7 separate regions of the Homo sapiens genome follow, and all the other regions are linked to region 2. The links are contacts of gene promoters, found by promoter capture Hi-C in human tissues and cell types (Jung and others, 2019). All regions are on one chromosome and are shown on one strand. The core of a region is centred on a gene start or on the middle of the fragment in contact, and the rest is flanking DNA. Distances in the headings are between cores, read along the strand shown. Region 1 has its middle 470 kb from the start of SNORD3P3. Region 2 holds the start of FLRT2 (fibronectin leucine rich transmembrane protein 2). Region 3 has its middle 360 kb from the start of SNORD3P3. Region 4 has its middle 450 kb from the start of SNORD3P3. Region 5 has its middle 640 kb from the start of SNORD3P3. Region 6 has its middle 310 kb from the start of SNORD3P3. Region 7 has its middle 620 kb from the start of SNORD3P3.

The links. The method cuts DNA at HindIII sites, captures the fragments that hold promoters and counts their contacts. A contact is called where the count stands out against the background at its distance.
Region 1: a contact is called between a fragment that was not itself captured here and the fragment with the promoter of FLRT2 in region 2, in 2 of the 25 tissues and cell types used here (dorsolateral prefrontal cortex and mesenchymal stem cells).
Region 3: a fragment that was not itself captured here is called in contact with the fragment with the promoter of FLRT2 in region 2 in 2 of the 25 tissues and cell types used here (aorta and mesendoderm cells).
Region 4: a fragment that was not itself captured here is called in contact with the fragment with the promoter of FLRT2 in region 2 in 1 of the 25 tissues and cell types used here (dorsolateral prefrontal cortex).
Region 5: a contact is called between a fragment that was not itself captured here and the fragment with the promoter of FLRT2 in region 2, in 2 of the 25 tissues and cell types used here (dorsolateral prefrontal cortex and mesenchymal stem cells).
Region 6: a fragment that was not itself captured here is called in contact with the fragment with the promoter of FLRT2 in region 2 in 1 of the 25 tissues and cell types used here (dorsolateral prefrontal cortex).
Region 7: a fragment that was not itself captured here is called in contact with the fragment with the promoter of FLRT2 in region 2 in 1 of the 25 tissues and cell types used here (mesenchymal stem cells).

The regions. Positions count from the first base shown.
Region 1 is chr14:84,803,344-84,806,455 of GRCh38, forward strand. No RefSeq gene overlaps it. Among named protein-coding and RNA genes, the nearest start is that of SNORD3P3, 470 kb to the right of the region's middle. The HindIII fragment of the contact is 3,651 bases long and covers 1-3,112 here.
Region 2 is chr14:85,528,874-85,532,004 of GRCh38, forward strand. It overlaps FLRT2 (fibronectin leucine rich transmembrane protein 2), which reads left to right and starts at 1,271. Exons shown (of 2, transcript NM_013231.6): 1 at 1,271-1,661. FLRT2-AS1 (FLRT2 antisense RNA 1) reads right to left here and starts at 2,786. Exons shown (of 2, transcript NR_184170.1): 1 at 1-2,786. The HindIII fragment of the contact is 3,489 bases long and covers 1-3,131 here.
Region 3 is chr14:84,912,892-84,915,878 of GRCh38, forward strand. No RefSeq gene overlaps it. Among named protein-coding and RNA genes, the nearest start is that of SNORD3P3, 360 kb to the right of the region's middle. The HindIII fragment of the contact is 3,316 bases long and covers 1-2,987 here.
Region 4 is chr14:84,820,722-84,823,659 of GRCh38, forward strand. No RefSeq gene overlaps it. Among named protein-coding and RNA genes, the nearest start is that of SNORD3P3, 450 kb to the right of the region's middle. The HindIII fragment of the contact is 3,596 bases long and covers 1-2,938 here.
Region 5 is chr14:84,626,062-84,629,140 of GRCh38, forward strand. No RefSeq gene overlaps it. Among named protein-coding and RNA genes, the nearest start is that of SNORD3P3, 640 kb to the right of the region's middle. The HindIII fragment of the contact is 5,079 bases long and covers 1-3,079 here.
Region 6 is chr14:84,963,213-84,966,288 of GRCh38, forward strand. No RefSeq gene overlaps it. Among named protein-coding and RNA genes, the nearest start is that of SNORD3P3, 310 kb to the right of the region's middle. The HindIII fragment of the contact is 3,770 bases long and covers 1-3,076 here.
Region 7 is chr14:84,653,016-84,655,884 of GRCh38, forward strand. No RefSeq gene overlaps it. Among named protein-coding and RNA genes, the nearest start is that of SNORD3P3, 620 kb to the right of the region's middle. The HindIII fragment of the contact is 3,197 bases long and covers 1-2,869 here.

The DNA of each region.
Region 1 (3,112 bases), core at 62-2,561, 730 kb before region 2:
AAGCAAATATTGTATGGAACACCCTCTACCACTAAACAGATCAAAAACAATCACAAATGGGGCAGGCTCGCCATGTGCTTTCATGCGGCATCATTTATTTTTGTGCATTTGTATGACTATTATGATTATTGTGTACCTGATTAATTTATATTTTACAATGTGTATTCATTCATTTTTTTTTTTCATTTTTCAATCCGTTCACCTTAGTTCAAGGTCTCAGGGAGCCCGAGCCCATCCAGCAGCTCAGGGCACAAGGGGAGGACTGACCCTCATGGGACTCCATTACCTTGCAGAGTGCAATCATATACACACACTCACTCAGACTAAAGCCATTTACACACACCAGTGAACCCAACGTGCGTATCTTTGGGATGTGGGAGAAAACCAGAATACCTAGAGAAAACTCACACAGACGTCGGGAGAATTTGCAAACACCATGCAGTGTCCTCAGCTGAGAATCTATTTTTTTTCCTCACCAACATAATAACAAAACAACTTTATTGGAAGACCATCTCATGAGTTTCTGCAGGAATGGCAACAGAAAAAAATGTAATAAATAATCAAATTCAAATGCTGTAGCAGTCATTTTTGCTTACCTACACAGTTTGCTTGCCCTGCTTTCTTATTTACAGAACCTGATGTAGTTTATATACATATCTATAAGAAAGGCTGGCCCTATTCCAATCTCAGCAACGAATCAGATTCAATCTATTTTGTTTAAGCATGAGGATGGAATGTGATGCAGGCCAATAAGGTCTTAAGGTTTCTGTAGAGGGTGCTCCTGGGAGAGGTTGCTTACTCTTAAAAAGTAAGTCAATCGAAAGAATGGTGTCTTTTGTTGCACTACATTGCCATGCCTAGATATGATGCATGGAACTCTGGCAGCTATCTTGAATGCCGGATTATAGATAGACATTAAAGCAGAGAAAAGGAAAAACAAGACAAAACAAAACACTTTGGTCCTTGCTGTCATTATTTAGGTCCTGATTAAATTAAATATGGAACTTCCCATTTCTTGACCTATTTTTAAATCAGGGAACTAAATCGTGATTTTTTTCCCTGCAAAAGATATGCTAAGGAATATGAACATACCTTCTGACTGTATTTGTTGGGGATTGAAGTTTAATGTAAATCTCATGTAAATGCAGTGGTAGATGTTACCTAAATAGCCAGGGCTTAAAATGTCTACATTTCACAATTATTCATGGTAGGGAATAGTGTATAATTCTATTCAGTTTTTCTAGTGTGTGAGACTAGACTAATAACTTCTTTGCTCATGTCTTTCACAATCGGGAGCTTTTTATAAAGAGATAAGAGATAAGTTCTACTCTGTTTAAATTGCATTTTAAGAAAGTACATTTATCAGATGTTTCACCACTTGGCCTTCAGAAATAACACAAAGCTACCATCAATCATACTTATTTCATTTTGTTTGGTCAGAAGAGGAGAAGAAAAACTAAAAAGCTTCAGCTTTCTTCCCTCACTTACTTACCCAATGATCTAATTCTAACTCATTTTCCTCTCACCAATTCCCTAAAGAAATAGTGCTAAATGGAGAAAGTACAGGGAAAGTGGGAAAAGATAGAAGGGGAAAAGGTAGTGTATTATTCCATTCTCACATTGCTATAAAGAGTAATTTATAAAGAAAGAGACTGAATAATTTATAAAGAAAATAGGTTTAATTGACTCACAGTCAACAGGCTATACAGGAAACATGGTTGGAGAGGCCTCAGGAAACTTACAATGATGGTGGAGAGGCCAAAAGGAAGCAGGAAGCTTCTTCACATGGCAGAGCAGGGGAGAAAGTGAATGGGGGAAGTGCTACATGCTTTTAAACAACAGATCTCGTGAGAACTCACTGACTATCACAAGAACAGCAAGAGGAAATCTACCCTATAAGCCAATCACCTCTCATGAGGTCTTTGATAGTTAATACTGAGTGTCATCTTGATTGGACTGAAAGAAGCAAAGTATTGTTCCTGGCTGTTTCCATGAGGGTGTTGCCAAAGGAGATTAACATTTGAGTCAAAGGCCTGGGAGAGGCAGACCCACCCTCAATCTGGGTGGACACCATGTAATCAGCTGCCAGCATGGCTAGGATAAAGCAGGCAGAGAAACTTGGAAGGACTAGTCTGGCTCAGTCTTCTGGCCTCCATCTTTCTCCCATACTGGGTGCTTCCTGGCCTCCAACATCAGACTCCAAGTTCTTCAGCTTTTGGACTCTCAGACTTATACCAGTGATTTGCCAGGGGCTCTCAGGCCTTCAGTCGCAGGCTGAAGGCTGCACTATTGGCTTCCCTACTTTTGAGGTTTTGAGACTTGGACTGGCTTCTGGGCTCCTCAGCTTCCAAACAGTGTATTGTGGGACTTCACCTTGTGATCGTGTGAGTCAATCTCCTAAAAAACTACCCTTCATATATTCATCTACTCTATTAGTTCTGTCCCTTTAGAAAACCCTGACTAATACAAGGTTCCTCCACCAACACTGGGGATTACAATTCAACATGAGATTTGGATGGGGACATGCAGCCAAATCATATGAGATAGCAAGAAGCAAAACTGAAGAAAGAGAAAGAAAAGTAGACCAATGAGAGGGACCAGAGAAGGCACTAAATATCTTCAGCTGGAAATAATTGTAGGGCAAGCACGTACTGTATATAACCTGCATACCTGTGCTTGGTCAGATAGGGCGAATGTCCACGTATGCCCAAAGTACTAAGCGTATATTATCCTATGTGTTTTAAGGGAGAGTCTAGTGAAGAGGAACATAAGGCAGCTTGTAGCAGAAGGAACACATGACACTTGGAGGATAAAGAACAGGTTAAAGTTCTATTAACTTTTTCTCCTTGTGTGGTCTTGGCCAATTTATCTAACCTAACCTTCAATTAGTTATGAAGAATCTTTCATAAGAGGAATAATACTTAAGTCATGGTATTGCAGAAAAAGTAAATGAGATTGCTCACATGAAAAGCATATTGAAATGCATTATGCATATGTTCCATAAATCCTCCAGTCTCCTGTCTCCACAGCCCTGAGGTGAAAAGCTTTTGAGACTCACCATTTCCTGAGAGCTAGGGAAGTTTTCCAGCTGGGGTGCAAAGACTCTCACCAG
Region 2 (3,131 bases), core at 21-2,520:
AAACTATAACATCTATCTCATGGGAAAACACACTTTCTCTGTTTTTAAATAACTCCGTTTCAGCAAGATCCATGTGTGTAGCCTCTGAATACTCTATAAAGGCTCCGTATTTCTTTCTTTCTTTCCTTAGTCCGGAATGGAGACAGAAGAAAGATTCGGTTGAAGATGTCCCTGTGTGGATCTCAGTTTGCGCTCTGAGCGACGTCCTGGCTCATTTGGGTGTGACGGTGAGAGCAGAGGCGCTCTGCTGACAGTTTTTTCTTGTCTAAGCTTCCATTCCGCATCCACAATATGACTCGCCTTCCACTCCAGTTAACTTCTTGGAAGTCCAGAGCACTTAGTCAAAGCTGTTTACAAAATGCAAAGCATCTGGGCGGCCAAGGCAGAGGCTCCTGTGTTCTCTATGTAACCGCCTCCAAAAAAGCTGGGAAATTTCGCGGATCAAAATGTAGGCGCTTAAAGCTGACCCTCTGCTGTCAATGTTGGGACTTAGATACATTTTTTGCATCGTCATTCTTGTGTGTGTTTCCCGTTTATTCCATTCTAAGGCTCAGGCTCGCGCTGTTTCTCTCGCGCGCGCTGTCCCCTCTCTCCATTTCCCATTCACACATCAAACTCCGTCCTCCGCACCCCTATCTTCCCGTGTCTTCTTAGTTATGTGAATGTGTGTCATTAGGCTTACTCGGACACTGGATGGGTGAGTGGGAGGCAGCTTTTCTTGCGGTTTCATTTACACTTGGCATGGGTGGGTGGGTGCCCTCCACAATTCGTCTCGCACACGGAACACAGTTAAAATCTGTAGCTAGAACGAGTGAAAAGTTCCGAATCTTTAAAGCGCAGCTAGGACAGGAAATAATACAGGGTTGGGGGATGTGGACGGGGGCGGAGAGCAGAGAAGTAAAGGAATAAAACCAACTTCGCTGGCAACTTCAATAAATCCGGTAACTGGAGGCAAAAAATAGACTCCGAGGGCTGGGTCTGGTCCGGATGAAACGCTAGGGCTCCTTCCCTTCCTTGAATCTTGGGCGCTGGAAGCCAGCCACGGGCGTCTTGCCACGCGAGTGCCCCTAGACAGCAACACACCCACTGGAAACGCACGTGAACAAAGCTCTCGCCCCCGGGAGCCGCTGCCTGCGGTTTCCTAGTCGATCCCAGCTTCTCTAGGGAGTGTCAGGCGCACACAGGGTTAAGTTAGTTCCCTCCCTGGTAGGAGGGAGAGGAGGAGGAGGGGAAAAGCAGCATACTGTCTCAGGCTGGGTACCTTGTAGTTAGTTGTACGTTCGAAACCTGTCGCCGTCACTTGCGCGTTTGGCATTATCCATTGTCACCGCGGAGGAACGAGCGCTCGAGATATCATCAGTGCCCGCAAATCTCCGCGCCAAGGCGCTGAGCTACTCCTTTCCGAGGTGCGCCTCTGGTCCTCCGTCCCTGGTGCCCAGCAGCGGCGAGGCGGCATCTCCGCTCCCGCCGCCGTGTCCACCGAGCCCTGGGATCAGGGTGGCAGTTCTCAACGATGGGCAGGAGGGACCTCGGCGGCGACCCCTAAAACAATACCATGCCCCGGGATCCCCGCTGCTGCCGCGCCAGCGTCTTCCCTTTCCACCTCCCTGACCCTGTCGGATTCGGATGAGCCCATTGCAAGGAGAAGACGCAGCCGTCAGGTAAAAGGGGCTGCGTTGCCAGGTGAAGTTTCCAGTAACCGGCCGAGCTGCTGCTACGCTGGCACCACGCTGTCTCTTCGGGGGATTTTTTTTTTTTGAAAGAGCTGGGGGTGGTCATCTTAAGTGGGGTGCTCTAGGCTTTGTCTTTCACCTGGAGAGAAAATAGGCAGCTTAGCTCTCTCTCGACTTTGGGGACATCTGTCTGCTGGTCGAATCCACCTCCTCTACGGAGCATCATGACTGAGTTCTGGGTCAAAACGCAAATTTTCTTGCCTGGTAGATGCATCGATGCTAAATTGGGGTTCTCAGTGCCCCTAACCTTGTCAGAGTTCAGTCTCCTACTTCCCTAGATTGAATCTCTTAACTTTCACCAGTAACAACCCTCTCCCCTCCACAAGCTGTTGTTAATGTCACCAGCGTTATTATCAGGCTGTTGTATCTAAAGACACCAACCTACTACCTGCCCGTAATCTGGGATCTATTAGCAGTTAAACAGATGCGGTGGATACTAATTCCTTTTCCTTCCAGTTGGTGGGGGCGGGTGGGGCTTTTTCCAAAACCAAGTCCCTTCCAGCCCTGCTTGTCCTCTTCGGGCTGGCGGGCACTGAGCTGGGGCCATCACGCCTTTCTAGAGCGCCTGCGGAGGTGGCGAAGGCTTGGAGAGCATACGAGGCGGAATCCGGATCGAGTGAGTTCCTTGAGCCGCTTGCGTGGGACGCAGGGAGAGGGCGAATAACGCCCTCAGGCGCTGAATGCAGGGGCAAGGAGCCAGCGAGGGTGGCTGGAGCAGGCCTTGCCAGCTGTTACCAAGTCTCTCCACAGGCTTGGGGGCTTGGGGCCTCCTGGAAAGATCCCTCCGCCGCGCTGACCAGTACGGGGCTCGCTCCCGCACTTTGAAGGCTGCCGCGGTCTTTCGTCATTTATAATCAAGCCCAAGATCAAGGTTGCAAGCTGAGGTCGGGGTACTGACAACGGGAATGAAGCCATAGGGGAAGAGGATAACTGGGACGGGCTGGACCCATACTTGATACCCGGGAAACTCCTAGAGCGTGTGGTGCTCCTGCCAGCGGCAGTTACTGGTGGAGCTGAGGCCACCGCTACTGTCGTCGTTGGCGCTTTGCTTCTGGAACCTCCCAGCAAGATGGCACTCACTGTCTGTTCCCTTCCGATTAGCACCCCCAGCCGCGCTCCCTCCTCCCCGGGATACGTATTAGTCACATACTGTGGGGAGAAGATGGGCTATGTAAATGTAAGTCAACGCGCTTTCCCAGCCACCTTTGCATAATGCAACAGGAACAGCGACCCGCGCGCACGAACCGGGTAGTGTGCGCGTGTGTGTGCTCGCGTGTGTGAGCGCGTGTGCCAGCGTGCGTCTCCGCGCGGGCGTGCGTCTGGGTGGATCCTTGCGTGGCTTGGGAGGCAAATCGGGCGTTTCTCCAAGTCGTCTTAACATGATTTAGGCTCTCAAAT
Region 3 (2,987 bases), core at 243-2,742, 620 kb before region 2:
TTGTTCTGATTACATATCTTAACAATGTCAGTACTGAGTGACTTAGCATGAAAATCTGCCAAATAGTTTTCTTGTTATTTAATTAAGTTTTATTCTGCTTGATGTTGGCTTAACAGTTTTTAAAATCAGTCAGTTTCTTTGTTAGAGTTCTGGAAATTCTTACGGAGTTCAGAGGCATGATCTCAAATTATCAGAAACCTGTATTTGTCAGAATCCTTTCCGTGAATCTCCTTGAAGATGAAAGTGTTTAGGTTTATCATTGCTCAGGAAGGTACCAAAGTAAACAGTTAACCATCTGTGAATTACAAGACTTGAAATGGCCATGATTAAAGATCTGGTGAAAGTTCATTGCAACAATTACACAAATTGACAAGGAAATTTGGCTATTTCTGTTGCATATAACATTTTATGGTAACTACTAGAATTATGACTGATAGCATTATACCAGGACTATTCGATTTCTGTGAATTTCATACAATTTCTAAAATACATATTAATATCACATCCATACAAATATAACCCAAAGAAGGTTTACCATTACTTATTATTTGACAAGGCTTTCGATATAATTTAATATACTAAATAAGCCACATTATCTCAATATCTCTGTTTTTGTAAGGAGAGTTATCTAATTGAGGTATCCTATGCATCTATATGGAAAATTCTAAAGTTAATTCTAGGTCAAGACAAACACTTGAGTTTGAGTTGGAGAAATTCACACACAAAAAATAAAAGACTTGAAATACTTGATCAAAATAAAATCTTAGGTCACTATGAACAACAGTCATTCATTTAACCAAAGTAATAATTAAAGGGCTTTAAAGGTAAATACAGAATGTAACCTGGCTGTAGAAAAACCTTAAATCCTTTTAAAAAAAAGAATTCAGCTTTTTCACATGATCAAAACCTAATGAAGACATCATTAATCATAGAAAATTATTTAGGTAAAACAGTGAATTTTTATTTCCTAGCCAAATTACTCAGAAGTTTAAAAAAAATTCAACATTTTCTATTAAGGGAAGACCGGCTGGGCGCGGTGGCTCACGCCTGTAATCCCAGCACTTTGGGAGGCCGAGGTGGGCAGATCACCTGAGGTCAGGAGTTCGAGACCAGCCTCAACATGGAGAAACCCCGTCTCTACTAAAAATACAAAATTAGCTAGGCGTGGTGGTGCATGCCTGTAATCCCAGCTGCTCGGGAGGCTGAGGCAGGAGAATTGCTTGAACCTGGGAGGCAGAGGTTGCGTGAGCCGAGATAGCGCCATTGCACTCCAGCCTGGGCAACAAGAGTGAAACTCCGTCTCAAAAAAAAAAAAAAAAAAAAGGGAGACCAATACTCCAAAAAACCCTGTTGTTATAATAGCGAGAACAAACTTCTGGTGTTGTATCGGTACATTTTTGATACTGATAGTCATCTTTTATAAAAGTTTATAATTTACTTCTAATCTTAGCCAGTTTGATCACACATAAAATTCCTTTCATAAGGTTCATCTTCCACAAGCCTTCCACAGCTTTCTCATCCATTTAGTTTTTGTCTTATACTTTCCCTTTCTCATTTGGGAACCATGAATCATTCTATTTTAGAGCAAAAATTATGCTTTTTACCTTAAAGATAATAAAACATCCTCATATTATATCACTATTCCTCACAAAAGCACATTTTACCTTCCTTGTATATTTGCACAGTGTTCTTTTCTTATTATTTCTAGTGATTTTAGTTACATATATTAATTATAATTTTTACCCTTAGTGATCTTAATTTTCACTGAACATCAGTAAGCAACCAAGTGTCAGCTGTCTGTCACATTAGCAATCTATAGTTTGGCAAAATGTATGAATTATAATTTCTAGAAGCGTGTGGTTTCTCACAGTGCAAATTTCTTAATGCGGCACAGAGCACGTTTACTAATAGTCTCAGATATCTTTACTCTCTCTGTAATAAATGAGGAAAACTGATATCTCTATCCTGTTAACTTTTTCTTTTTCTTGGTGGTGGGGGCTAGGTCTGAGAATTAAATTGTTTGTACAGATTTTTCTTGGCCTCAACTACCCATTTTCAGTGATAAAAATGTAAAATGCTTCTGGTATAGGAAGGACATCTCTTACACGGAAAGTTTATCTTACATTTATATAACTTACTTATTTTTAATAATTATGCTTGGATTTCTGATATTGATAAAACACAAAACAGCCAGCCATTATGTTTTTATAATTATTCTTATTTTACCAATGAATTTTTTAAGTATAGAGATAACATAAGCTTATTTTACCAGTAAACTTAGGTAGGAAAAATTGTGAGTATGTATTATATTTAATGTTGAAAACGCTGAAGACATGCCTATTTTAATCAAACAAACTTTTTTTTTTATTATCAAAGATTACCCAAGTCACATGAACTCGAAATGCATTTGGGTTAGATCCTATTTTTTGATAGAATATTTCATTTATATAAGCCTTATTTTTCTTAAAGACAACTAAACAGAGCTCCTTTGTAATTTAATCTGACAGTATAGTAAGATAGACAAATATCACATATACATGTATGTATATATACATATCATACAGATATAGATAAACATATAGAAAGAGATTGTATAGCTTTCATTTTAAAATTTTGTCCATGCACCAAGTACAATAACACAAACTCACTATTTTATTTAAAACTATCTGGATCAAAATTATTTTTCTGGCCAATGGAACAAGATTTCTTACCCAGATGGCTAAAAGTTTTAACTAATATTTGTGAAAAAAATACTTTAAAGATTTTTAAACTTGCCTTCTGTAAGGAATCTTTTAAAGAGGCAAGCTTTGATTCATTTCATCTCTTAGATGCCTCTGCAAACCAGTCAAAATTGCATCCCATTGTTTTTGCAGGGTCTTTGATCCCTTCTTTTCTAATTTGCCCGATGAGTAAACAATTTTATCTAAATTAAAACTTCCTCATTGTGGCTGTTTTAATTCTAAGTCTTCTCTAGTAAAGTTAACTCA
Region 4 (2,938 bases), core at 295-2,794, 710 kb before region 2:
TGCCTCACTGATTCCTATAGATACTTAAGCATCTCTCCTTTAGAAGGTTAGCTGTGGTCTCTATTCTTTTCTTAGTGTTATGTCAGCGGTGTACTTTCTATGTTCTTCCTGAGGACAATTTTCTTTACCAGTGTTGCAGCACTTACACTTTTGGAAAACTGCCTTGCTCCTTCTGTTGGATGTTAACTCTCCCAAAAGCCTACCAGAATAATTTGTTGACCAAGGGAAGCCAGAGTTTTTGACATTTGCAATAAAGGAGAGTTCCACTTTAAGGAGTCTACCTTGTGTCTCAGGAATGTAGTTATAGAGTTTTGGAATCTGGGCTCAAGTAGTTTTAGGCGGGTCTTCCAAGAGAGGGAACTGATTTGGATTAGACAAAATTTGTGATCTAATAGTTTAAAAGTGATGAACACAGAGGTGCCAGGGTCTTGTCATTTGCCTTAATAAGTAAACAGGTATTTGATAAGTTACCTTTTTGCCAAAGTGGGAAACCTATTATCCTGAAATGCAGGCTATATGCCCAAAAATGTAATCTCTTGATCAAATAAATTGGGTTTCAGAAATTTCTTGAAGCAAGCAGCGAAGTTATGTATTGCCTTGCAGTTAGTATTTTATTTCCAGGAAACACATCTTCTGGAAAAATACTAGTCTTGTTGACATAAGTGCTAGTTTTCAGTGCTGACACTCCATAGAGGCAGATATCTCCGTTCTCACTTTGCCCTTTTCTAACCTCATGGTCAGCTCCTTGAGGGCAGGCACTGTATGATGATCACTGTGGCACATTTGTTTAAACTCCTTGTTCATGAGTAAATTGATAAATATTACAAACATTAACACTCTGAGAGGTAGGGTGTGAAGTGAGCAGAGCCTCCTTTGAGGAACAAATTAACCTGGGAACATTTATTGAGAACCACTGTCGATATCTGATTCATCCCTCACGTGTGTTGAATTGGGAAAAAATGGAGTTCATGTGACTATTAAAAAAGCCGAGGAAAAGGCTGAGAATAAGAGTCAATGCTTATAGAGAGGGTCGACTGAAAGAAAGTGCCTCAGACATCAGAGATCAAGAGTGACCATGACAAGTTGACAAAGCCAACCAAATCTAGGGAATGTGTAGCAACTGAAGGTGATCACCTCCCAGCAGACATAAGATCAGGCAACTATTAAAATGTATGACAGCAGCCATCATTCCATGCAAATGAGTGGACCTAGAAATCCAGGGCAAGTTGGCTTTAATAAAAATGGTCTTTTACTTTTTCTGCTCTAGGTATTGTTCATATTGTAACAAAGCTATGGCATATTCTTGGGACTTGGCCCTAGAAGGCCACGTGACTACAGCACCATATCAAACACTGGCCTAAAGAATGTCAGGTGTCCTTGCAAAGAAAATTTCTCCAGTTTGCTCTAAATCCTTCATGATTAAAGCTTTTAACTCAGTTGGCTACATTTCAAATGAGGAGGATTTTTGAGACCCTAATAAAAACCTGGGACATGTAGGCTGCAGAGGTAATTTATAATTTTAGTTTTTGATTCACAGAGAGGAGAAGAAAATGTCTCAAAAGCCAATGTTTTACAAGGAACTGCACATTTTGTAACGTCATTTCCCACAATAAATATAAGAAACAAAATCTGAGCAGTGAGTGACACTTTAGAGTTGGACATGTATGAAGAAGAACAGAATCTGCAGTTTTATTAAAAATGCATATTAAACTGGATTAATGTTACAGTCCTCTTGTTTCAGAGAGTATATTGAATGCCAGCTGGGTTCAAAGAAAAAAAAATTACATTTCCTCTCCCTACCAAGCTCTAATGTTGCATGGTTCACCAGGTGCATGAGGGACCTGATCTGTCCCTGGGGTATGGAGGACAGGCCACAAACAAAAGCTAGACAATCTGAACTGAGTTCCAGGTTGGCTCAAAATAAGCTCAACTTGCACCACAAACTGGAAGCAAATGTTTGTGAAGGTATGGTTGTGTGTGCTCACAGCTATGTATCTTTCTCACCATCCTGTTGATTATCCCAGAAAAACAAACAAACAAATGCAGTGAAGCCACAATGCCATATGGAAGTCAATTGAATTCATGCAGCAGACAAAATGAAGTCAGATTGTTGCTGCAATTAGATAGCTGTGTCAGGTAAAGAGATTTGTTTAAGCTTTTAAGTCAATTACTTGAATGTGCAGAAATAATTCTATGCTGAATAGCCCAGCCAAAGTTAAGGCATTTTTATCTTTAATTTAAACTAAAAGTTAAGAAGTCTAAGTGTGACACTTAGATTTGATATTTTGATTTGTATAATGAGGCAGGAGCTTTGTTTCATTTCCACGATGTTAAATTTAACTTTATTGAAACCGAAGGGACTAAAATTTTCTGATTCAAGTAAATAAATAACAATCATAGAACTAAGATTTTAAAGTTTAAAAACCTGTGAAACAATATCACTTGAACTTCTATAATAGCAGACTTGTCATTTTTCAACCCCTTATTTATGTAAAACATTGGTGAAATGGACCCAAGCACATAAAGTATTAGACAATTAGTAAAAATGGTTCAAGTACTGTTTCCTCTGGATAGAATGATTAAAATTGCTTCTCAGACTTATAGACTTTCTCTGATTTCTCAGTTTTGAGGTTTCAGGAATCTAATATTCTAATAATAAAAATGTTTCATCTAATAAGACTCCCATAGTGTCCACACATTTTGTATTTCGTGAAACTTCTTTCATGTTACGAATACTCCGCAACTTCAGCTAAACAAAATAACCCTGTAGGGAGAAACAATATTTTTTAAATTTCTCAATTTTTTGGAGTATTTGGGAAGGTAATCAATACTGCCTAATTACATTAGTATCAAACTTTCTAGAACAACTGATATTTTTCAGGATATTTTTATCATTCTGAGTCTTCTAGTATAAAGGATGTGTTTTCTTATTTCTTTT
Region 5 (3,079 bases), core at 225-2,724, 900 kb before region 2:
TGGAGAATATTATCTGTGTTTGTGACTATTTTATGAGTACACAAACAACTTGTGTATTTCAGTTGCTTGGTATAGGGCTCTATAAATATATTTGATGTCAAAATCATATATATCCACATGCTTTGTGTGCCTATATTTTGTTTAGTTTCAGGTTCTTTTCATAGCTCTTATATGTCTAATGAAAAAATCTTAATATTTATTTGACTGAATATGTGTCTTTTATATTTATAGTGAATTTTTGTTGAGCTAACCTGAAAATTTTTTGTTCCATTGCCTTCTGTCTTACATTCTTTTCAAAAGTCATCAGTAATTTTTAGCTTTACTTCATGAAGATGATATATATTTTTTTCCTCTGACTTTTTTTGAGATTTTTTAAAATTTCAATTTCTATCAATTTGATTTTTATAAGCTTTGATGGTGTTTTCTTTCTGTTTGTTTTTTAATTAGCATTCATGATAATTATTTTATCTATATATTCATAGCTTTTATTGCATTTGGAAAAAATACATTTTATTTAAGTAGTTGTATCCACATCTCTTTTTCTTTCTTTTTTGAATTACAATTATGCATATTTTAGACTACTTGATACTATCCTTCAAATAACTGAGGACCTTTTCATTTTTTAAATTTTTTTTCTATTTTTCAATTTGGAAACATCTTATTTTCTTATCTTTGATTTACTTATCTTTTCTTTGACAATATTTAATAAATTGTTAAGCCCAAAGTGGTAATTTTAAAATTTTAGATATTGTAGTATTCATTCTAAAATTTTTACTTGCTGCTAATTTTTATTGTAAATTGACAAACTATAATTGTACACATTTCCTTTTAGTGATCACATCTACATCCTATGCTTTTTGTTTTTCATTATCAATAAATTGATACTCTCCAAGGAGTCTGCCTCTATTTTCCTTTTTGCCCTCTTAAGGAATCATTTTAGATAGCCTAAAGAGTTAGTGAGCTACTCAGATTAACATTTATCTGCCAAGCATTACTATTGCTATAAGGGACCTCTTTCTTCTCTCCTGAATTGATATTCTTTTTTTTTTATTCATTTCCAAAATAAATTATTGTTTGTTATTTTTGTTTTCTAATTTCTAGCCAAAATGTGTGTGTAATGCAGGAAAACCCTGTTCAAATAGATGTCATGATAAAGAGACCCCGCAGGAAGAAACACTCCAAGTCACTATTTGAATGCCACTAGAGCCCCCACATAGGAGCAAAGGATGTCATCCTGGGACATGGATCTGTAATTCATCTTTAATCTGTGGAAGTGCCTCACACCTCTCTGTGTAAAGACACTACACCAGCTAAACTGTAGTGCATTTACCATAAGTTTTGCAAACCAGAGGGATAAAGAAGAATTCTGAAAACAGGAGCAGAGAATATGATCTGCCAAGGACTAGGCAGGATTTATTGGGTCCCTTTATATTGTAAGAATACAATTACAAAATATGTGAAGTTGGTAAATTAGCTCAATGATTTGCTCAGCCGCATTGAATGAATGAGTGGTCTGCAATAAGGAAATTCCTCTGGTGTGGTTTTTAACAGACCCCATCTAGTGAGACCTCAGTAAGAAAGTTTCATACAAGGTGAATGAAGGAATGGTTCTCAATTTTCACTTCACTGGGTGAGGCATAACTTAATGAAAGCAACTGTCTGTCAGCATTTGAAAAAAACAACATTAATCTAATTATGGATTTTCCTACCTGATGATTTGGCTGCCAGAGTGAGAGCCTCTTAATCATTCTGAAGACTCAAACACAAACCCTAGAATCCTGGAAAATTTAGGCCATGAGTCAAGGAACTCACAGAAGTCCTAGATCTGCTCTATATTTGGGGAAAAAAAGGGTTTTTTTAGTAATAACACAAAATAACTGGTAATTGACTGCAACATAGATGTGTGGAACCTTTTTATGGGTATCATACCAGTCACTGCAGTGTTCAGTGTGCCAGCTCTGCTCATGGCTGGCTCTATATTGCTGGCACTGGATGGCTGTTAAGTTGCCATGTTTTGTACAGCAGTTTTACATTTTGATATACAAACAAACAGGTTTTTGCTGCAAATGGAAAAAAAAAGTTTTTTTTTGATTTATTTGTTTCGGGGGGAAAGAATAATCATGATTTGCAATACTTCACACAATAACTACATTTCACTACTATAATTGACATGTTGGATGCCATCTAGCTGTCTACATCTGTCTTCTGGCTTTCATATTCCTATTGTTTATTTGTAATTCTATCACACCTATGACCTAATAGATTTGAGGTCACTTAATCAATTATTTACAATGTGAAATGAAACAGCTTAGTGAAACTTTGTTATATTCATATGTACATATGTGTGTAAATGTATAAATGTGTTTGTGTGTGTATCTTTGTATGCAAACATTAATATCCTTAAAAAATTGGCATTCTCTGACTTTACAGAGATTTAAATAGAAATACAAATGTGATAAATTAATTTAAATAATTAAATGCAATAAGATTGAGGGGAAATTTTTAACCTACCATCAATAACCACAACTCAGTAATTAAGTCAATATTATGTCAATCACATAATAAGCATATACTGAGGTGCTACCATGTACTTGGCGTAATGGGGCATACAGAGATGATAAAGATCAAAGCCTATAGCTCTTGGGAGTCATGAAAACGCCTACCATTTTAATTAATACCTGGATATCACTATATTTCTAACATGATTACTTTATTCTTTAGAAACTAAGCTTAAAGACCAGTTTATTAAAAACAAAAGAATTTAGAGATGAAAAAAACTGAAGTTAAACCATGTTAGGTAACTTACCCAGGGTCAGTCAATTCATTGTGGAGGAGACCCACCATGTGTTGTCAATAGTCAACAAAATAAATAATTCACCAAGCATACAAAAAGGCCTGCATTTTTTGTACAGTGTCATTTAAACCCTAATCAATTACTTCATCTTATATTTAGCAGAGAAATCGTGACCTCTTTCAATGCTGGAAGAAAAACTGGCCAAATTAGATTTATTAGTGCATTAATAAAACATTCTGCATGACTGAAAAGGATTCTCTAGGCTAATTTTGATATTACTTAATT
Region 6 (3,076 bases), core at 148-2,647, 570 kb before region 2:
TTAGCTAATAAACCTCACCTACCAGTCATCATACCTTAGCTTTGCTGACTTTAAACATGGTCAGAACACTTACATTAACCCGTAGTTGGGCAAAATTATCTAACACAAATTCTATTTTATAAAAAAAGTGTTTAATATTTTATGTAATGTATTGAATACAGAAAGTACAAAAAAAAGAAGGTTGTATGGGTATTGGAAATATAGTTTCTACTGAATGTGTATTTCTTTCACACAATTTTAGTGTCAATTTGTAACTGCGGCCTGGGCAATGGAGTGAAAACTTGTCTTTAAAAAAAATTGTAAGTTGAACTATCACAATTTGGGGACCCGCTGTAATTGGCCCAATGCTATAAAACTCAAAAAGACCAGAATAACACCATGGGTTATCAAATATTTGCTTTTACAGAGTTTTACCATTTTCAATGAGCTAATGTGTATTTTATCTCAGTTGACGTTCAAGTAACACAGTGAGATAAGCTGGACAAACATATATATCCTGTAATATGGGACAAGGAAAGTGCAGGTCAAGAACTTCGGAAATGACAGATTTGTGTTACGTTGTAGCAACAAGGAAAGTATGAGTGGTGCTCTACTATTCATGACCGGAATAACAGGTGCTGGAACATACATTAACCCTTGGAAATACTTGAGGGTATTTTAAACACAGGAGATTTTTGATATTCAGATGTTGAAGGCCACAAAAATAAAATAAAATAAATGACATGCTGGATCAAAAATTCAAGGTGTTCTTTCCGAGGAATTCCTTAATCAGGAATAAAAAAAAATACAAAACTTTGTCCTGCTTAATATGTATGTTGGATCTCACCATTTCTCAACTCAAACCTATTTTGGTTTCTCAACTCAGAGAGAAAGTAAATATTCTACAGATTGGGTACCTCTTGCCTTTCTGAACCCATCTTCTGGTTCTATTCTTTATTTTTATGAGTACCAAGCAGTTGCAAATATAAAACATTCATAACAACTCAATAAGGTAGGCACAATTATTGCTCCCATTTTATAGATGAAGTATTTGAGACACAGAGCAATTATGAAGCTTGGCAGAGGTCACACAGCAAGTGAGTGGTTGTCACCAAGCAGTATGTCTGCAAAATTCACTCTCTTATGGACCCAGAAATACTGTCTCTGCTGCATTCAGCTCACTTCAGCTACCCTAGTATTCTTGCTCTTATTCAGACATATTGGGCTCCTCTCATCTCAGCTCTCATTTATTATGCCTGGAAAGTCCTTCCTTTTACATATCTTACTGGATTTTCCCCTCTCTTCCTTCATGCCTTGTCTCTATGATACATTCCTTTATTATTTTATTTGAAATTGAAATCTCCTCCTCCTCTTCCTTCTAATTGTAGTCCCTAACCCTTTGAGATGCTTTATTTTTATCCATAGCACTTACCACATCGGACATTATAATTACTTTTAAATTAATTTGTTGTTTACTTGTCTCCCATCAAATAGAATGTAGTTTTCTGTGACAGGTAGCAGTTGTGGTTGTATCACTAGTCCTATAACAATGGATGGTACATGGTAGACACTGAGATGTTTGCTGAATGACTTAACGAACTTACTGAAAATTCTTCAATAAGAGTCTCTCTCATAGAATTCCGATTCACTATGTCAGAGTCCACATATATCTGAGTTAAAAAATAAAACTGAACAAAAAGTAATCAGCTCAAGTGATTCTGATGCAAGTGGTCCATGGAATGTTGTAAAATGTGGCATTAAGGTAATAAACTTTTTGAAAAACGAAAGTATATCAAATACACTTAGTTTTCCACACCCTTAAGCTTGCATTGTCTTATATTGTATTTTTAAACCAGAATCTGATATGAGGAATTTATTGCTATGTACTAATAAAGTTATAGCTCTTGATTTGACACTTTCTGGAGAAAGTACATTCCAAGTTTCTACTTGAATGAGTAAAATCTATGTAGTTACTTCTCAAAATTATTGAAAGTCAATGTAGACATGCAAAAATTTCTTAGGACTAACTAGTTACATTGACTATCAAATGACAAAATCACAACAAATCTAATTTAAAGATCTAGTTGGCTTTTATTTGTGATTCTAGAATCGGGCAACAGTTCTTTCTACAAAGTAGAATGAGTATTACAATAAGTCGAGCAGAAAAGTTTAGCTTTATAGCCAGAAAATGGCTAAAGAAATCAGAAACAAGGAACAAGAAAATTGTTCACGTCAAAGGTACTTTCCTTATAGGCTTAAAACAGAGGAAAGTGCCTGATTGTGCTGACTCAGGTTCACTAGAATCTCCTGGTTTTTAGAAAACAAGCTTATTTGAAAATTCAGTTTGATTACATGACACTTTGCAAAAGTGACTCCATTTTGGTTTGATCTGGAGTCAACCTTAGGTGCTAAGGCCTAGAGCAGGAGCCTCATCGAAAATAATGACATCTTATAAACTTTGTCTAACAAGATTAAAAGCTAATTCCACTAGTGATTATATTATAAGAACATTTTGTATTAAAACTTAAATGCATCTAATAAATTTACAGTCTAGATTTCAAATCCATATTGTGTGAAATTGTTTGCAATTATATGAACTTACATTCAGATTTTCTCAAAACATGTAAGAGGAACATGTTTGAATGTATAATCAAAAGAATACTATACCAGAATTAAAAAAAATATCAGGAGGAAATGAAAAAGAAATTTAAGTGAGTGGACTAGAGAATGAGCAGACTAAGGAAGACGAATACCAAGAACTAAAAAGTCTACTAGTGGAGTTTTTCTTAACATTATTTAAACTCAATCACAGTTTAATTCAGTAATATTAGGATATCCAAGTATCATAAGAAATACGATCTGACCCATCTCATCAATTTAAAGAGAATACAGTTGCTAAATTGTTGCTCTGGATCTGAGAAGCTAGGTGAACAGGAAAAGATTTACCATTAATCTCAATAAATGATCATTTTTCTTTGCATTTGCCCAATCGCAAACAGGAAATGATGTTTCTCTTCAGCTCCGTATGTAAGGATTTCTGATCAAGCCAGACATAACAAAATTGGGAACACAGAGTGTGTATGCAACAGGAAGAACA
Region 7 (2,869 bases), core at 223-2,722, 880 kb before region 2:
TTTGCTGAGGAGTGTTTTACTTTCAATGATGTGGTCTATTTTAGAATAACTGCTGTGTGGTACTGAGAAGAATGTATATTCTGTTGATTTGGTGGGGAGAGTTCTGTAGATGTCTATTAGGTCTGTATGGTCCAGAGCTGAGTTCAAGTCCTGAATATCCTTGTTAATTTTCTGTCTTGTTAATCTATCTAACTGCCTAAGCTCTTCTTGTTGCATTTATCCCTTTACCATTATGTAATGACGTTCTTTGTCTTTTTTGATCTTTGTTGGTTTAATGTCTGTTTTGTCAGAGACTAGGATTGCAATCTCTGCTTTTTTTTTTTTTTTTTTTTTTTTTTGCTTTCCACTTACTTGATGAATCTTCCTCCATCCCTTTATTTTGAGCCTATGGGTGTCTTTGCACTTGAGATGGGTCTCTTGAATATGGCATACCAATGGGTCTTGACTCTTTATCCAATTTGCCAGTCTGTGCCTTTTTATTGGGACATTTAGCCCATTTACATTTAACATTAATATTGTTATATGTGAATATCATCCTGTCACTATTATGCTAGCTGGTTATTTTGCCTATTAGTTGATGCAGTTTCTTCATCGTATTGATGGTCTTTACATTTTGGTTTGTTCTTGCAGTGGCTGGTACCAGTTTTTCCTTTCCATATTTATTGCTTCCTTCAGGAGCTCTTTTAAGGCAGGCCTAGTGGTGGAAAAAAAAATCCCTCAGCATTTGCTTGTCTGTAAAGGATTTTATTTCTCCTTTGGTTATGAAGCTTAGTTTGGCTGGATATGGAATTCTGGACTGAAAATTCTTTTCTTTAATAATGTTGAATATTTGCCCCCCTCTCTTCTGGCTTGTAGGGTTTCTGCAGAGAGATCCACTGTTAGTCTGATGGGCTTCCCTTTGTGGGTAACCCAACCTTTCTTTCTGGCTGCCCTTTACATTTTTTCCTTCATTTCAACCTTGGTGAATCGGACAATTATGTGTCTTGGGGTTACTCTTCTCAAGAGGTATCTTTGTGGTGTTCTCTGTATTTCCTAAATTTGAATATTGGCCTGTCTTTCTAGTTTTGGGAAGTTCTCCTAGATAATATCTTGAAGTGCGTTTTCCAACTTGGTTCCATTCTTCCTGTCACTTTCAGGTACACAAATCAAACATAGGTTTGGTCTTTTCATATAGTCCCATATTTCTTGGAGGCTTTGTTCATTCCTTTTCATTCTTTTTTCTCTATTCTTGTCTTCATGCTTTATTTCATTAAGTTGATCTTCAATCTCTGATATCCTTTCTTGCTTTATTTCATTAAGCTGATCTTCAGTCTCTGATATCTTTTCTTCCACTTGATCGATTCAGCTATTGATACTTGTGTATGCTTCATGAAGTTCCCACGCTGTGTTTTTCAGCTCCCTCAGGTCATTTATGTTATTCTCTGAGCTGATTATTCTAGTTAGTAATTCTTCAAACCTTTTATCAAAGTTCTTAACTTCCTTGCATTGGGTTAGAACATGCTCCTTTAGCTCAGAAGAGTTTGTTATTACCCACCTTCTGACGTCTACTTCTGTCAGTTCGTCAAATTCATTCTCCATCCAATTTTGTTCCCTTGTTGGCAAGGAGTTGTGATCCTTTAGAGTCGGAGAGGCATTCTTGTTTTTGGAATTTTCGGTCTTCTTGTGCTGGGTTTTCCTCATCTCCGTGGATTTATCTACCTTTGCTCTTTGCTTTTGGTGACGCTTGGATAGAGTTTTTGTGTGGTCATCTTTTCTGTTGATGTTGATACTATTGCTTTCAGTTTGTTAGTTTTCCTCCTAACAGTCCAGTCCCTCTTCTTCAGGTCTACTGGAGTTTGCTGGAGGTCCACTTTAGACCCTGTTTGCCTGGGTATCACCAGCAGAGGGTGCAGAACAGCAAAGATTGCTGCCTGCTTCTTCCGCTTGAAGCTTTGTCCCAGAGGTGCACCTGCCAGATGCCAGCTGGAGCTCTCCTGTATGAGGTGTCTGTCAACTCCTGCTAGGAGGTCTTTCCCAGTCAAGAGGTACGGGGATCAGCGACCCACTTGAGGAGTCAGTCTGTCCCTTAGCAGAGCTCGAGCAATGTGCTGGGAGATCTGCTCTCTTCAGAGCCAGCAGGCAGGAACATTTAAGTCTGCTGAAGCTGCATCCCCCAGCCGCCACTTACCCCAGGTGCTCTGTCCCATGGAGATAGGAGTTTTACCTATAAGCCCCTGACTGAGGTCGCTGCCTGTCTTTTGAGATGCCCTGCCCAGAGAGGAGGAATCTAGAGAGGCAGTCTGGCTACAGCAGCTTTGGGGTGCTGTGGTGGGCTCCGCCTAGTCTGAACTTCCTGGCGACTTTGTTTACACTGTGAGGGGAAAACCACCTACTCAATCCTCAGTAATGGCAGATGCCCCTTCCCACACCAAGCTTGAACTTCCCAGGTTGACTTCAGAATGCTGTGCTGGCAGCGAGAATTTCAAGCCAGTGAATCTTAGCTTGCTGGGCTCTATGGGGTTGGGATCTGCTGAGCAAGACCACTTGGCTCCCTGGCTTCAAACCCCTGTCCAGAGGAGTAAACGGTTCTGTCTTGCTGGCATTCCAGGTGCCACTGGGGAAAAAACAAACAAACAAACAAAAAACTCTTGCAGCTAGCTTGGTGTCTGCCCAAAGGGCCTCCCAGTTTTGTGCTTGAAACCCAGGGCCCTTGTGGTGTAGGCACCCAAGGGAATCTTCTGGTCTGTGGGTGGCAAAGACTGTGGGGAAAATGTAGAATCTGGGCCAGATAGCATTTTCCCTCACAGCATGGTCCCTCACGGCTTCCCTTGGCTAGGGGAAGAAATTCCCCAACCCCTTGCACTTCCCAGGTGAGGTGATGCCCCACCCT